Linked DNA regions of Homo sapiens: region 1 is linked to region 2. Evidence: promoter capture Hi-C in 16 types of primary human blood cells and fetal thymus (Javierre and others, 2016). All regions are on one chromosome and are shown on one strand. Each heading gives the region's core, a stretch centred on a gene start or on the middle of the fragment in contact. The rest is flanking DNA. Distances are from core to core; before and after follow the strand shown. Region 1 overlaps SLC18B1 (solute carrier family 18 member B1). Region 2 holds the start of VNN1 (vanin 1).

Region 1 (2,898 bases), core at 135-2,634, 72 kb before region 2:
CAGGCGTGAGCCACTGCGCCCAGCTGATTCTACATATTCCAAAAAAGTTTATTTAGTGCTATTATCTGGGGGACCAGTTATATCAGCAGAAAAGGGCGACTAAGCTGTCATTATGACTCAAATGGTTACCAAAAAAAGAAAAAGGGTAATTTCCTCCTCCTGAAAAGACAACAAAGCAACTCTTTTAAAAAAATCATATTCTAAAGCGGTTTATTCTAAAAACCATGAGTGAGGTACTATTCTTTTTAGTGAGTACAGTTAAAAAGGAAAAAAAAAAAAAGAAAACCAGCTTGGCATTTCAGAATTGTCTTATTCCTTTTTAGTGTATTGGACCGAGTTCCAGATGGGCCAGTATTTATTGCTATGTGTTTTCTAGTGAGAGTAATGGATGCAGTTAGCTTTGCTGCAGCAATGACTGCATCTTCTTCTATCCTGGCAAAGGCTTTTCCAAATAACGTGGCTACGGTATTGGTATGTATTTTAGAAGTATTTCCCACTTTCCTTTGAGTGTAGGCCAAAATATTTGCCCTTCCAAGTTAAAGCTGGGGTCCATTCTTCTATACTTGCATTTCTCTACTCTCTGTATTATTGTTGCCTTTCACCCCGAGTTTGACTAGCAGCAAGCCTGTCAATAAATGTAACATTGGTTTCACTTAGGTGCTCTTCCTGGTTTTAGAATTCCCTGAATGGGCAGTTTGACAGGTAAATGTGGTCCAAATCAGTCGTTCTTTTTACCACTTAAAAAAAAAATTTTCCTTTGTAGTTTTTTTGCTGTCTCCCCGTAGCCTAGATTGTGGCTGAGCTGCCTGAAGCATTCCTCTGCTTTAGAAAAGAGTTATCCCTAGTGGCAAAATAATCAATTCATACTAAAGGCCTTCTTCCACTTTCCCCAGATTTATGCACGGGATCTTAGAAATCATCTCAAAGTCCTTAAGTGTTTCTGTGCTGTCTGTCTGAGGAGTGCTTTTGCATTTTGACATAAAAATCCAGATCCTGGTGGCATGATATTGACATGCGTTTTTGTGTACTGCCTAGATGCGTATAGACCTGGTATTAGTGACATATCAGATTCTCATCCCATCTCTAGGCAGCTGCCTCTCTGATCCCCAAGAAGGCTTTCCCCTCGTAGCTCTCTCTCTCTCTCTGGGCCCACGCACTTCATATCATAGTCGGTATGGCGCCCTTATAGCATGTAATTGTTCTCTTAGACTTCAGAGTCTAATCAGCTTAGTACCGAGGACTCCCTCATTTACTCATGTAACAATGTAGTTTGAAAATTTTTACCATCAGATAAACCCTTTGTGGTGTAAATAGTCCTTCCCCCCAACCTTTTTTTTTTTTTTTTTTTTGGAGTGGGGGATGGAGTCTCGCTCCGTAGCCCAGGCTGGAGTGCAGTGGAGCGATCTCGGCTCACTGCAAGCTCCGCCTCCCGGGTTCACGCTATTCTCTTGCCTCAGCCTCCCGAGTAGCTGGGACTACAGGCGCCCGCCACCACACCCGGCTACATTTTTTTTTGTATTTTTAGTAGAGACGGGGTTTCGCCATGTTAGCCAGGATGGTCTCGATCTCCTGACCTCGTGATCCACCTGCCTCAGCCTCCCAAAGTGCTAGGATTACAGGCGTGAGCCACCGTGCCCGGCACGTTCTTCCCACTTTTTATTAAGCATTTATGTATATAGCTGGATAGGTTTATGGTAGGTTCTATTGCCATTTGGCCGGCATACCATTTACATTTCCAGAAAATTTATTTCTCAGAAAGGGCTCAGAAGAACACCCGTCTGTTGATATGCTCATTAAGATAAGGGTTTATGGTTAAGCAAGTTTGGAGAGGGCTGTCTGCTGTCCTCTAACTTAGAGATGCCCAGTTCACATTAATGTCTTTAGACCTTGAAAATCCTGGAGTAGGGATACTTTATTAAATGTTCCACAACTCACTTTAACTATGGAACCATTTTTTTTCTTTCTTTTCTTTTTTCTTTTTTTCTTTCTTTTTTTTTTTTTTTTTTTGTAGAGACAGGGTCTTGCTGAGTTGCCCAGGCTGGTCTTGAACACCTGGCCTCAAGCAATCCTCCCACTTTGGCCTTCCAAGGTGGCTGGGATTACAAATGTGAGCCACCACACCTGGCTGTAACTATTTTTTCAAACAAGACTTGTTGATCTCTTAAAGAGCTGGTATTCTGTGGAACACTCTGGAAAGTGCCACTTAATAAATTCCTATGATAATGGTAACAATCCATTGGATTTTCTGATCAGCAAGAGACACCAATGTTGCTGTACCAAGTTTCTGTATAAAATTGCAGCCAACAGCTAACACACTAATGTGATAATTGATCTGGATGGCTTATTGTGATTAAAGAATTTCAATGTTCTTTATGAAGTTTTGAAAGTTATTAATGGTATATTTTTGTGTACTCTATAAGGTCTAAGGATATAAGGCTGCAAGCCACAGATCTCTGTTTAAGGTCCCTAAAAACTAGATTGATTTAAAATGTTGCAATATCTATAGTGGTAAACCCTTTTTTTCCATAGCATTGTTTTGTTTAACTTTAAACAGAATAATTTTATATGGTACAAAATTCAAAAGTTACAGAAGGGAACATAGAATATAGTAAATATATTCTACATATAACAGTTGCTCAGCCTTTGTATACACATCAGTTGTGCAGGTGCCCAGCCCTCCATCCCCTTAGGGGAAGGCAACAGATATTGCAGGTTTCTTGCAGAGAAATTCCACATATATATATGTACACACTGACACACACACACACACACACACACACACACACTGAGAGAGAGAGAGAGCACGAGAACAAGAGAGCATGATTTCCCTCCCCCTTTTTTCTTTTCCTTTTTTTTTTTTTTAACTGGACAGGACTATTGCAGTATCCCTCTTTTTTC
Region 2 (3,001 bases), core at 365-2,864:
GCAGCTTCAAAGATGGTTCCTAATGCTTTATTGGATAGAATACAACAAAAGCGATGAGGTGTTGCTTCCCCAATTACATTACGAAGCATCCGTGGCTTCCATCTCCAGTGGGTTCACTTGCTGTCTGGCTCTAAGGGAATCCAGATACCATAATGCGGGCTGCCCTATGGTGAGGTTTGCATCACTAGGAACTCATGTCTCTGGGCAACAACCAATGAGGTCTTGATCCCTGCCGTCAGCCACATGAGGGAGCTTGGAGCTCGGAAGTGAATCCTCCTGGAGTCAAGCCTTGATATAGCTAGCCCTGGCAGCTGCTTGACTGCAGCCTTGTGAAAGAGACCTTGGGCCAGAGGCACCAGCTAAACTGCCCCTGGATTCCTGACCCAGAGAAAGTGGGAGATGATGTATTTTTGCTTTTTGAAGCTGCTGAATTTGGGGATAATTTGTTATATAGCAATAGAAAATGAGTAACTCTTTTGTATTCCTCTTTGTCCTGGCTTCCCCATTTTGAGGAAAATAAAGTAAATCAAAGTGTAGAGCTGAAATATTCACATGAAAATAATAATAAAGTTTTAAAATTATTTGAATGTCTTGTGTTGACATTCCAAAATATATGAATTCCAAAAATTTATATGTTGAAGTCCTAACTGTCAGTATCTTAGAATGTAACTTTTTTGGAAAAGGGGTCATTTCAGATCTAATTAGTTAAGATGAAGTTATACTGGAGTACAGTGGGCACTAAATCGAATTGGTCCTATGATTGAGTCTCAGTCTTTCAGTGAGCCTGTACCCCTGGGTTTATGACCTTCAGTTGGCTTTTTTCTTCTGCCCTTATTTGGCATAAAAACAAAGCAGGTGGATCACCTGAGGTCAGCAATTTGAGACCAGCCTGCCCAACACGGCGAAACCCTATCTCTACTAAAAATACAAAAAATTAGCCTGGCGTGGTGGCGGGCGCCTGTAATCCCAGCTACTTGGGAGGCTGAGGCAGGAGAATCACATGAACCCGAGAGGCGGAGGTTGCAGTGAGCCGAGATTTCGCCACTGCACTCTAGCCTGGGTGACAAGAGTGAAACTCCATCTCAAACAACAACAACAATAAACAAACAACAACGATGACAAAAAAAGCTAGAGCTGGGATTTTCCCTTTCCCTGTGTTAAAGATTAGAGTGGTGTCCTCACAAAAAGGGAAAACTTGGATACAGGCACACACATGGGGAGAATAGCATATGAAGAGACACAGGGAGAAGGCAGCCATCTATGGGTCAAGGAGAGAGGCCTGGAACACATCTTTCCTTCACCGCCCTCAGGAGGAACCAACTCTGCTGACACCTTCATCTGGGACTCCCACCCTCCAGAACTGCAAAGCAATAAATTTTTTATTTTTTACACCACCCAGTTTATTGTATTTTGTTAGGCAGCCCTAGCGAACTAATGTACATAGAGTTCTTGAGTTAATCTTCACAAATTACTGCAATAAGGTAGGGTCTTTTGTTATGTAACAATGCTATGAAATCATAGCGTTTTCTTAATTAACTTCCGTAGTTTAAGGTACTAAGTTCTGGACACCACGTGTCTTCTTTCTATAAATACCAGGACATGCTCTGTTTTTCAGCACTCATTGGACTTCAGCATGACTACTCAGTTGCCAGCTTACGTGGCAATTTTGCTTTTCTATGTCTCAAGAGCCAGCTGCCAGGACACTTTCACTGCAGCTGTTTATGAGCATGCAGCGATATTGCCCAATGCCACCCTAACACCAGTGTCTCGTGAGGAGGCTTTGGCATTAATGAATCGGAATCTGGACATTTTGGAAGGAGCGATCACATCAGCAGCAGATCAGGTACCATCTCTACCATCTCTCCAGTGTACTGGATTCTATGAGAAAGGAGGGGGTCCTAGGAGACAGGGCCACTGTCAGGGTCAGTTACACTTTTAGATGATATATGTATCAGAGTAGCCAAGAACCTTTATTTTACAGTTAGAATTCTACTTTCCTCTCAAAATTAGAGCAAGGACTTCCCTAAAAGTAAGAACAAAGTTAAGAAAAGAACAATTTGCTCATTATCAAGAAGCAGCAGACCTTTGAGGAACTGGCCATAAATTCAACATCTTTGTTCCCCTTTTCTGGTACAGATGGAGGATGGAGGATAAATGGGTCAGGGACTAGGTGCTATTTTCAGAGTATTAGTGGCCTTCATGTACTCATGTGCTATTAAGGCTTTGCAGGTTTTCGAATAAATTTATAATCTGAAAACAAATTTAAGTTTTCAATTCCTTGCCAGCATGCATTATATACTTCACACTTCATTCTAATTACAAGATAAAAGTATATGTAATGCATTGTGAGTCCTTAAGTTTAGTGAAGGTTTCAGTTTGAAGTTAATCATACAGTATAAATTGTGGTTTACACAAATATTATTTTAAAAGCTATTGATCGATTAGGTGTAGACCAGGAATACATGAAGTGTGATAAAAGTCATGGATAAATGTGTATTACATATATCTATAAATATATATTCTTTTGTGTTGTTGAGTTAAGGTCTCACTCTGTCACCCAGGATGGAGTATAGTGGTGTGATCACGTCTCACTGCAGCCTTGACTTCCCGGGCTCAGGTGATTCTCCCACTACAGTCTCCAGAGTAGCTGGGACCACAGATGCATGCCACCGTGCCCAGCTAAGTTTTGTATTTTTTGTAGAGATGGGATTTTGCCATGTTGCCCACGCTGTACTTGAACTCCTGACCTCAGGTGATCCACCTGCCTTGGGCTCCCAAAGTGCTGGGATTACAGGCATGAGCTACCGTGACTGCCCTATATTCTTATATATACTAATATTTAAAAGGTTATCAGGAGTTCTGATGTTCTTTTTCATCCTTAGTCCAACTATTTCCTTGAAGGTCACAGAGCTTTTTAAGGTGACTCTCTAATTGGAAGGTGCCCAGGTTAGCTCAGGCAGTACTTGTAGGCATGGGACAGTTCAAGTAACCAGTTTGTGGC

The links. Contacts are between HindIII fragments. The CHiCAGO score rates a contact against its expected background, and 5 or more counts as called.
Region 1: a contact is called between a fragment that was not itself captured here and the fragment with the promoter of VNN1 in region 2, in 1 of 17 cell types (neutrophils). The highest score is 6.9, in neutrophils.

The regions. Positions count from the first base shown.
Region 1 is chr6:132,785,007-132,787,904 of GRCh38, reverse strand. SLC18B1 (solute carrier family 18 member B1) reads left to right here. Exons shown (of 14, transcript NM_052831.3): 5 at 324-471. Among named protein-coding and RNA genes, the nearest start is that of SLC18B1, 12 kb to the left of the region's middle. The HindIII fragment of the contact is 3,512 bases long and covers 1-2,898 here.
Region 2 is chr6:132,712,668-132,715,668 of GRCh38, reverse strand. It overlaps VNN1 (vanin 1), which reads left to right and starts at 1,614. Exons shown (of 7, transcript NM_004666.3): 1 at 1,614-1,843. The coding sequence starts at 1,634. The HindIII fragment of the contact is 10,237 bases long and covers 1-3,001 here.